Regions from separate parts of the Homo sapiens genome. Here regions 1, 2 and 4 are each linked to region 3. The links are contacts of gene promoters, found by promoter capture Hi-C in blood cells and fetal thymus (Javierre and others, 2016). All regions are on one chromosome and are shown on one strand. The core of a region is centred on a gene start or on the middle of the fragment in contact, and the rest is flanking DNA. Distances in the headings are between cores, read along the strand shown.

What was found. Contacts are between HindIII fragments. The CHiCAGO score rates a contact against its expected background, and 5 or more counts as called.
Region 1: a fragment that was not itself captured here is called in contact with the fragment with the promoter of RFXAP in region 3 in 1 of 17 cell types (total CD8 T cells); the score reaches 5.4 in total CD8 T cells.
Region 2: a contact is called between a fragment that was not itself captured here and the fragment with the promoter of RFXAP in region 3, in 3 of 17 cell types (naive CD8 T cells, activated CD4 T cells and total B cells). The highest score is 8.7, in naive CD8 T cells.
Region 4: a fragment that was not itself captured here is called in contact with the fragment with the promoter of RFXAP in region 3 in 1 of 17 cell types (total B cells); the score reaches 5.5 in total B cells.

The regions. Positions count from the first base shown.
Region 1 is chr13:39,664,892-39,667,591 of GRCh38, reverse strand. COG6 (component of oligomeric golgi complex 6) reads right to left here. Exons shown (of 19, transcript NM_020751.3): 4 at 2,438-2,496. Among named protein-coding and RNA genes, the nearest start is that of MIR4305, 2.1 kb to the right of the region's middle. The HindIII fragment of the contact is 2,122 bases long and covers 332-2,453 here.
Region 2 is chr13:39,011,873-39,014,572 of GRCh38, reverse strand. PROSER1 (proline and serine rich 1) reads left to right here. Exons shown (of 13, transcript NM_025138.5): 11 at 97-1,882; 12 at 2,340-2,490. Among named protein-coding and RNA genes, the nearest start is that of STOML3, 22 kb to the right of the region's middle. The HindIII fragment of the contact is 2,959 bases long and covers 1-2,700 here.
Region 3 is chr13:36,817,824-36,820,523 of GRCh38, reverse strand. RFXAP (regulatory factor X associated protein) reads right to left here and starts at 1,302. Exons shown (of 3, transcript NM_000538.4): 1 at 567-1,302. The coding sequence starts at 1,166. LOC124903158 (a long non-coding RNA gene) reads left to right here and starts at 1,453. Exons shown (of 2, transcript XR_007063760.1): 1 at 1,453-2,357. RefSeq lists enhancers at 495-724, 735-784 and a silencer at 1,015-1,384. The HindIII fragment of the contact is 8,641 bases long and covers 1-2,700 here.
Region 4 is chr13:39,648,334-39,651,033 of GRCh38, reverse strand. No RefSeq gene overlaps it. Among named protein-coding and RNA genes, the nearest start is that of COG6, 6.0 kb to the left of the region's middle. The HindIII fragment of the contact is 1,779 bases long and covers 513-2,291 here.

The sequences.
Region 1 (2,700 bases), core at 143-2,642, 2.8 Mb before region 3:
AGATGCTCTGAAAAGTACTAGAAAACTGACTTATAGGTCAACATCAAGTAATTAACCACCAATGTGGGGGATATGATCATTTATCCAGCTATAAAATACAGAATGACAATATCAACAAGATAAAAGGGAATTTAAGGCCAGACTTCCTAAATTTAATTTCTATCCAGGCAATTTGCAATTCTATAAATCTGAGGACAACATCAACTTGCTCTCATTTTGGCTTGTAGAAAACACACAACGGGTAAAAGTGGATTTTTAGTGAAAGAGAAGGTAGTTAGTAAACAAAAAGGGGATTAAATGCATGAAATTATGATTAAGCTTTTATAAAGCTTTGATACTTAGTTGTTTTTAAAGATTTTTCTCTGGCATGAGGAATAAAATCAAAAGACTATTTTATTTGGTATTCTACCTTTCAACTAGTCTTAAAATTGTGCAATATTTTTATATTTTCCTGCTGTCAAACTCTTTTTTCAAACAAAATCTTACATGGAATCCTAATATATTAAACAAGTAAAAGTGAAACTGCTCTCACTAAAATTAGGGTGAGAGAATCTGACCTCCAAAACTCCATTATCCTTCTACGTCTTGCAAAGAAACCCTGAGGTTCAATGAACTATGGTTTGAAAGCCACAGGTCTAAGATAAGGTACATGTTCCAATATCCAATAATGTACTTCCTATACGTGTAAAGAAAATGTTTTCTTTGTTTTGTGCTATTAAAGATAGTATTTTTTAGATGATATTGGTACATATATTTTATTTTGCTAATTTTGTCACATTTTCTCAATGTTTTTATAAGACAGAAAAGTAAGTTACATTGGTTACCATTTTAACTGCAATGGATCATTCCAGTTGATCTCTGAGTCCTTTGTAGCCCTAAGACCCATGATATCCTTTTACACAAGTAACTTTACACCTCTGCACTCTTTATAATTTCCCATTCATCAATCTTAGTCTGAAGAGAATTGTGTTAAGAAGGATTAAGGGCTCAAAATAAAAGAATGTCAAGATCAGTGGATGTAAAACTAAGGAGTTGGGGGTCATGTACTTGCCATTTTTGGTCTAGGGCAGTGTTTTTCAAACTCTTGATTATGACCCATAATATTAAACCATTTAAAACCATTACTGAAACTGAAAGAAAGGCTTCACAAAATAATATTCACTCAAACTATTTTTACTTATTTATTTTTTAGAGACAGGATCTCCTTCTGTCACCCAGGCTGGAGTGCAGTGGCACTATCATAGCCCACTGCAACCTTGAACTCCTGGGCTCAAATGATCTTCCCACCTCAACCTCCAGAATAGCTGGGACTTCAGGTGTGCACCACCATGCCCAGCTACCCAAACTATTTTCTATTTTATTTCATTCTAATTTATTTTTTAAGGCTAGCTATGATCGATTTAAATAGTAGTAATGATTGATAAATCATAATTTACAACCCATTGATCTTGACCTGAACTACAAAAAAACACTAGTTGGATCAGAAGTCACAGACTTTTTCTGTAAAAATCTTGATAGTACATATTTTAGGCTTTGTAGGCCACATATGGTCTCTGTTGTAACCACACGACTCTACTGCAGTAGGGTAAAAGCAGCCATAGACAGTATGTAAACACAACCATAGCTGTGTTCCAATAAAGCTGCATTTACAAAAGCAGGTGTTGAGCTGGATTTGGCCTGTGGCCATAGTTTGATAACCTGTGGTCTATACTATAGTATACTGACCTACCCCAAAATCAGCAGTTAAAGTGGTAATATCTCCATATTACTGATGAAATACCTAGAATACTAAAAGGTTTAAGTGATGTACCCAACTACTGAGCAGGAGACAAGTATACTGCATCATAATATAATGCTTCTCCCCCCCTATACTACTCCACACATGAGAGATGCAGTTAATGAGTTTTAGCATAATTGCTATGAGTTTTAGCAATACTGAACACCACACATTACACAAATCCAGACTGTACTCACCTTTATTCACTCACTCACTCATTCATTCAATCAACCAATAGTATACCTATTGTATAAACTACAAGGAGAATTTATACAATTAACTCTTAATTATACCAGAGAGGATATATCATAGCTTAAAAATAAAAGACAATGATTGTGAAAAAAAAGTAATAAAACTATTAAAAATCTGAAAACATTTACATTTTAAAAAGCATCATTTCTGAACTCCACAGCAAACAATAACGATACATCATCACCTCTCTTCCAAAGAAGGAATAATCTCTCAACCTCAATGTCAAGTTTATTGCTCCTAAACTACTGTCTTTATGCTTAAGTTACTATTGGGTAATATAATAGTTTAGGACCTTATGAACCATGTTTTTTATTATTCTGCTTTAATTCTGATTTGGAGTTATATATAATTTTCTTTGACTCCAATCTCCAAATTATTGAAAAGGTGGTTGTATGAAGAAAAACTTACCTTTCAGATTGAAGCTTAGTGGTTTTTACTATTAAATCTTGAGTCTGTTCCTTTGCTGCCTAAAATTATAAACATATCTAATATAAGTAAATTCCAATTTTATTATATTTCAGAAAACAAATACTACCACTTACTGCAATTTAGACTTAAAACAAATGAGATCACTCTATGGAACTCAAAAGCACAATAAAATGAAATACGTAGATGTTTCAAGGCTCATCCACTGGAGGAACACACTCAGTTCTTAATATACACATAATGCT
Region 2 (2,700 bases), core at 79-2,578, 2.2 Mb before region 3:
TTGTTAAATATTACAAAAATGGTTATGCTTTTTAATTCAAAATTTGACGTTTCAGCATGATGATACATTCTTGCCTTTTTTCCCCCTTCCATATAGCATTTTCCACCCCAGCAAGTCAACTCTTTTCTCCTCATGGTTCTAATCCTTCAACACCTGCTGCAACTCCTGTTCCTACTGCATCCCCAGTCAAGGCAATTAATCATCCATCAGCATCAGCAGCTGCCACCGTTTCTGGAATGAACCTGCTGAATACTGTCCTTCCTGTGTTCCCAGGGCAGGTCTCCTCAGCCGTTCACACACCTCAGCCATCAATACCAAACCCAACAGTTATCAGAACCCCTTCATTGCCCACTGCACCTGTTACATCCATCCACAGTACAACCACCACTCCTGTTCCTTCCATTTTTTCTGGCCTAGTGTCACTGCCAGGTCCTTCTGCCACTCCTACCGCAGCCACTCCTACCCCAGGACCTACACCACGGTCCACTCTTGGTTCCAGTGAAGCATTTGCTTCTACTTCTGCACCTTTCACTAGCCTCCCCTTTTCCACCAGCTCTTCTGCTGCTTCTACCAGCAACCCAAATTCTGCTTCATTGTCATCAGTTTTTGCAGGGCTCCCTTTGCCCTTACCACCAACATCCCAAGGCCTATCCAACCCGACTCCTGTAATTGCTGGTGGCTCTACTCCCAGCGTTGCCGGTCCACTTGGTGTGAACAGTCCTCTTTTGTCTGCGTTAAAAGGTTTTCTGACATCCAATGACACCAATTTAATCAACTCCTCTGCTTTATCCTCTGCTGTCACAAGTGGGCTGGCTTCACTATCTTCTCTTACTCTTCAGAACTCTGACTCTTCTGCTTCAGCCCCTAACAAGTGCTATGCCCCATCAGCCATCCCTACCCCACAGAGGACTTCCACTCCAGGGTTGGCCCTGTTCCCAGGCCTGCCGTCTCCCGTGGCTAACTCAACTTCCACTCCCCTGACATTGCCTGTACAGTCTCCTTTAGCCACTGCTGCATCAGCTTCCACGTCAGTGCCAGTTAGCTGTGGCTCCTCAGCCTCCCTTTTGCGTGGCCCCCACCCAGGTACCTCAGATCTGCATATTTCATCTACCCCTGCTGCAACAACTCTTCCTGTTATGATCAAAACTGAGCCCACAAGTCCTACTCCCTCGGCCTTCAAAGGTCCATCTCATTCTGGGAATCCCTCTCATGGCACTTTAGGTTTGTCAGGGACATTGGGCCGTGCATATACTTCAACATCCGTGCCCATCAGTTTATCTGCTTGCCTTAATCCTGCATTGTCAGGTCTCTCCAGCTTGAGTACTCCTTTAAATGGTTCAAATCCTCTTTCCTCTATTTCCCTTCCACCACATGGTTCCTCCACTCCCATTGCACCAGTATTCACTGCTCTTCCTTCTTTTACTTCTTTGACCAACAATTTTCCTTTAACTGGCAACCCATCTCTTAATCCGTCAGTATCTCTCCCAGGGTCATTAATAGCCACCTCATCTACCGCTGCCACCTCCACATCTCTCCCTCATCCTAGCTCAACGGCAGCTGTTCTCTCAGGGCTTTCTGCTTCAGCACCAGTCTCAGCAGCACCTTTCCCCCTCAACCTGTCCACTGCTGTTCCCTCACTTTTCTCTGTTACTCAAGGACCTCTGTCATCTTCAAATCCCTCCTATCCAGGCTTTTCTGTCTCTAATACCCCAAGCGTTACCCCTGCTCTTCCCTCATTCCCGGGGCTGCAGGCGCCCTCTACAGTCGCAGCTGTCACACCACTACCTGTGGCTGCCACAGCCCCATCCCCAGCTCCAGTCCTCCCAGGATTCGCCTCAGCATTCAGTTCCAATTTCAACTCCGCTCTTGTTGCACAAGCCGGGTATGTGGATAGTTTGGAAATAGGATAAAATTATTCTTCACCTAACTTGTAGTTCACATTTCATTTCAAGTCATCAAAATGAATGTCAAAATCTAAATGATGTTTTTCTGGGTGAAAACTTTAGCACTCTGAAATGTTTTATGAACCATGTTAAGATAAATGTATAAAATATTAATGCCTGTTGATACAATGTTTGGATTTGTATTTGATAGTTTTATTTATAAGACAGCAGAAAGGATTATATGCAAAACAGACTTACTGAATTTCGAATAATATACTTCACAGTAGAAAGATTCATATCAGGGAATGGCTGATTTTTATGGTCCTTCCAACAGAGGAATAAATTCTAAGGTTTTTGTTTTGTTTTTAACATTTTAAGATTGTATTTGACAAATATGGAAACAGTAGCTTTTATGTCTTGTCTGCAGTTAACTTGTTTTTCTGTCAATTGTTTTAGTTTATCATCTGGACTTCAAGCTGCAGGCAGTTCTGTTTTTCCAGGCCTTTTGTCCCTCCCGGGTATCCCTGGGTTTCCTCAGAATCCTTCACAATCATCCTTGCAAGAATTACAGCATAATGCGGCTGCGCAGTCAGCATTGTTACAGCAGGTAAGCAGCAATGGCTGGCATAAATTACATGGTAACATGTATAACTAACTTCTGTAGTGATAACATTGCAGTATCATTTGCGATATCCCAACATTGGCAAAAAATGGCTCTTAGCAGAATGCATAGAGATTTGATGATGATTACTTCTCTCCAAATTTGCAAATTTTGCTTGTCTTCTTTCAGGAGAGTAACAGAGGTGGTAGGATATAG
Region 3 (2,700 bases), core at 53-2,552:
GTTGTAAGAAAAGAGTACTACGTACAGGGGTACTACAGACAGGCAACTGAGTATAGCAGTACTAAAAATACGGTACTAGGAAGAGGGTTAACAGAACAGGACACTAAAAACAAAGTACTAAATACAGGAGTATTACAAATAGAGGTACTGAGAACTGGGTACTGAGAACTGGATACTGAGAATAGAGTAGTGAAAACAGAAAGAGATGACTTTCTCAGAAGTACCAACTTCATCTAGGTTCCTAAGTCTCCTTTAGCGATGAACCAGACCGATCATTTACTCTATGTCCTTCCAGCCATATCCCAGATCTATGACAGCTCTGCCGATGTCACATTATTTTTACTGAAATTTCTGCACCTATCATGAGTTCAACAGAACTGTTATTGCTTTGCACATGTTGGTATAAACTTTAATTTAGGGCAAACACTCTAATTCTCAACCACTAACCCAGTCACTGCAAACCGGCCCATTTGGAAGTGGGGAGGCAGGCCCTGCAGATGCGGTTTGCGTTAAGATCGGGTTTCTTCTTCCACCTCCCATCCCCAGGCCTCAGCTAAGTCTGATACCTCGAGTTTGACGTTTCCCGCGCTGCCAGTCGAGGCAGTCCCACCGCAGTTCAGGGCCTGGTCGCTCTTCTTCTTTTTATACTTGTCCTTGTACATCTTGTTGCGGTGTTTCTTGCACATCCACGGTTTGCGCTGCTTGGCCACCTGGCTCGTGGTCTCGCTGCAGCCTTCGTAGGTGCAGGTCTTGCTCATGCTGCCCCCACCGCTGCCCCGCCTCCGGGCGCCCCCGCTGCTGCCCTCGCCCCCCGAGTGAGTCTCCTCGTCCTCTAGATCCTCCAAACTAGCCGCGCTCTCGCCTCCCCCCGGAGGGTCCGAAGTGTCTAACAGGTCCGCCTCGTCCTCCCCAGCCTCCTCTTCGCCATCCCCGGCCCCTTCGCACAGGTACCTAACGGGCTTGCCCGCCCCAACGCTGCCCCCGGGGGCCGCAGCCTCGTCCTGCCCAGCACAGGGTTGCATCACTAGCAGGGTGAATTGAGAGGCCGCGGCCGCCACCGAGGCTGGCGCCAAGGTGGGAGCCGCAGCCGGGGCTAGGGCCGCGGGGTGGGGCACGCCGCTGGCGGCGCCCGGCCCCGCGCCCTCCGCTACACCCTGCGCCTCCATGCTGCTAAGACCTGGCCGGGGTCCACGACCCCGGGCTTTTAGCACCTGCTTGGCCTAACGGCACTTCGCGAACCAAAGACTCAGGACACGCTGGGGTAAAAGGCGCCTATACCGGGAAGGCGCCCCGACTGCGCCTGCGCGACCGCAGCCTGCGCGTCAGCGTGTGTACGCCCGCGGGCTGTCAGGGAGCGCGGCGCCTCTGGGGGCGGGGCTGAGCGCACAACCAACGGGACTGACTGCGCATGTGCGGCCGCGGCCCCTTCGGCCAGCTGGGGGATTCGTAGACAGGGTCTGGGGGCTGTGTCAGGTGAAAACCTGCAGTGGCTGGCAAGGCAGCGCCGTTTTACCTGATCCTATTGTATCTAAAGCGGTTCAAAGTATCTTCTACAGGAGTTCCAGTATGCAAATTAGGATTGTTCCTGAGCGGTCTCACGACTTGTAGTGTTAGGATGCTAATTTTATTATTTCCCCCACAAACTGCCTGCAAGGGGAGATTTGAAGCTGGGATGCAGTGGTGTCACAGCCTAGAGTCACTAGCTCGCAGTCCATGAAGGCAGAGGTGGCTTATTTGAAAATAGTGGAGCGGAGAGGGATGGGCCACACCTTTGGCCGAGTTGTATTTGCATTGAGGGATAACTTTGTTTTTTTTCTCCTGGAAACTCACTTGATTGTTAGTACTTGCTCTTTGCTGTGGCTGCTGAGATAAGTCTTAACGTTTTCGTTTAACACAGTGAAAATGTGTGAAAAGGAATACTGAATGGCAAACGTTTAAAAAAACAATGAATGTTCTACCAGTTCTATCAGTTGCTGGGCAATTGCTGGTTGTTAAATCTTGGCTTGCCCAAATCCCAGGAGAGAAAATATCCTGCCGTATCCTGAACTGTTAAGTAGATGTTCTTTTTCCCTTCATCCTATTCTTTCGCCTAGTCAGATTTCCCATCCCACCTACCGGAAAGCAATGACTTTATTCAACAAACTATAAATCCATTCACACTAAGATGTTTGGGTGCTGACATATAGGTAGATCAGTTATGTTTTAAAGAGAGGCATATGGAAGGGAGAAGGTTTGGAATTAGAGCAACCTAGGTAGTACTTCCTGTGTGACTACAGCAAGTTCGTGACAGCCTCTCCGAGCCTCAGTTTCCTCATCAGTAAAGCCTGCAGTCGGTGGTGTGCTAGCGCCAACTGATGGTAACTGGTTGCTAAAATTTCAGGAATATAATTAGCAGAAAAATTAAACACTGCTATTATTAAAAGTCTTACTACATAAACTTACAATAAGATTATATTAAAAACAAAGGGTACAAATCTCAAAACTCTTCATTTTCTAATTATTTTATTATGTTTTATCATTATCTGTGCTTTTAAGGTTATTTATGTCTATTGTATCTGTATGCGGAAATATTATTTAGTGGTGTGTTACTGCACATTTTCCCAACTCTGCCTTCAGTATGTCATGTTGATTGCTTGAAATCAGCCACTTTTGGAGTATTTACACCAGGGAAATGATCAAATGCTACGAAGCAGGTTTACA
Region 4 (2,700 bases), core at 153-2,652, 2.8 Mb before region 3:
GGTTGCAGTGAGCCGAGATCATGCCACTGCACACCAGCCTGGTCGACAGAGTGAGACCTTATGTTTTAAAAAAAAAAAATTGATTCCAATGTTATTTAAGTTATTCTAGGATTCAGGATTTCTTAACTTTGGCACCATTGACATTTGGGGCTGCATATTTTGTTGTTGTTGGGAACTATTCTGTTCACTGTAGGATGTTTAGCAGCATTACTGGCCTCTACCTACTAAATGCCAGTAGCATCCTCCCCAGTTGGAACGATCAAAATGTCTCCAGACATTGCCAATGTCCCTGAGGGGCAAAATTGTCCGGGGTTGACAACCACTGTTCCAAGCCGTAAGTATTTTAGTTATCTGATATTGCTTAACATATTTCCCCAAAACTAGTATATTAAAAAAAATCATAACTTCTGTCAGTCAGGAAATCAAGAGTGACTTGGCTAGGCGGTTTAGGCTCAGGGTCTCTCATGAAGCTGCAATCAGATATTACCTAGGACTGCAGTCATCTGAAAGCTTAATTGGTGCTGGAGGATTCACTTCGAGGTGGCTCACTCACATGGCTGGCATATGCTACTTACTAAAATGAGGCTCAATTTCTCACCAAATGGTCCCTCCCACAGGGCTATCTGAGTGTCCTCATAACATGGCACTCTTCCTGTTAGGCATTTACTATGGATATAATGCAAAAACTTCCCACAGTATATGAACAAAGATATTTATCTACCATGGTTTGTAATAGAGAGAAAAATAGAGATAGAGAGAGAAAGAAAGAGAAAGGAAGGAAGGAAGGGAGAAAAGCAGAAAGAGAGAGAGAGAGAAAGAAAGGATGGAAGGAAGGAGAGACTAAGGGAGGGAGGAGGAAAGAGAGACAACCAGAGTGTCTATCAATACAGGACTGAACAAATAAACTATCATGCACTCATTCATTCAGCAGAATACTATGCAAGTGTTATCTGCTATGAAGGAGATTTAAATGCTAACATGGAAATAATTCCACAATATACTCTGTGAAAAAGCAAGCTATATTATGTATGTATGATGAGATCACTTACGTGCACGAAATGGAGAGATACATATAAATTTAGATTTTTTTTCAGGATGGCATTCCAGTGGAAGGAAGGCTTCCATTTTCCATTTTGTACCTTTCTAAACTGATTGAAATTGTCTAGTCTTATTCATGTATTACTAAATATATTAACAGAGGTTATTAAGGTAGAGTAACCATGACCCACTTTTCTTGTTTATTTCTAATTCTCTGAATTAACAATTGTAAAAAAGTAAATGAGATAATTCATGAATTAAAATAATATGTGGTAGCATGAAAACAGGGAAATTATTTTATGTTTTAAATGCTTACTTAAGTATGTTTTTATGAGGTTAATTATAAATTGTTAAGAGCTTAAAATCAATATTTGTCAAGAGTTAAAATAAATTTTCAGGTGTGCCTCATCAGATACGTGTGTGTGTATGTATCCATATATTTTTGAAAGTAACGTTTTTTAGTGAAAATGTGAAAGATAATTGTTTATAGTAAGCTCCATAAAGTAGTAGAACATTAAAATAATTAAAAGATATGCTTTGACCTAAACATTTCAATTTAATAGGAGAACAAATACACGCATGTAAAAGAGCAAAGGATTTAAAAGAAAATGACAGAAGAACCATGCAGTAGACTGAAATGTGGAGATTCTTACCTTCTAAGAAATGATTGAGGCCAGATGTGGTGGCTCACCCTTGTAACTCCAGCACTTTGGGAGGCCAAGGTGGGCAGATCACCTGAGGTCAAGAGTTCGAGGCCAACATGGTAAAACCCTGTCTCTACTAAAAATACAAAAATTAGCCAGACATGGTGGTGCGCACCTGTAATCTCAGTCACCAGGGAGGCTGAGGCAGGAGAATTGCTTGAACCTGGGAGGCGGAGGTTGCAGTGAGCCGAGATTACACCACTGCACTCCAGCCTGGGCGACAGAGCAAGACTCCATCTAAAAACAAACAAACAAAAAAAAAAAAACAAAGAAAAGAAAGAAAAAAAAGAAAAGGTTGAAAGGAGGGCCTCTCCAAGTTCCTATTCCTCTCCTTTAGATCAAGCTCGTCCAACCTGAGGCCCACAGACTGCATGGATATGGCCCAGGACAACTTTGAATTCTGCCCAACACAAATTTGTAAACTCACTGAAAACATTATGGATTTTTTGCAATTTTTTTAGAGCTTCAGCTATCATTAGTGTTAGTGTATTTTATGTGTGGTCCAGGGAAGCCAAAAGATTGGACACCATTGCTTTAGATGGTTAAGCTTTCTTGCCCTTTGGCTTCTGAAATAAGAGGAAGTCACTTTGTATTGGTTACTGTGGCTTCATCAAAATATAATATGGCATTTATTACGGCTATGTCTAGTGAGTCATAGAATTTTCAGCCTTCGACATCTTTCATTGTGTTGATAATAGTAGCTCCCGTTATTTAGCAACTATGTTTATTGAAAATCAGGCTCTGTGCTAGAATTTATTATACACTATTTTTATCTTCACAGCTACCCTGAAACATAAGGATCATTACATTATCATGTAATTAGTACTCCTCTTGATGAGTAATCCAAGACTAAAGAAACCTTTCCAAGGATATATGGCTAACTCAGATAACACAGCCAGCTACCACCTAAGTTGGCGTTTAGCTAAAGGGTTCAGCCAGGCGTGGTGGCTAATGCTTA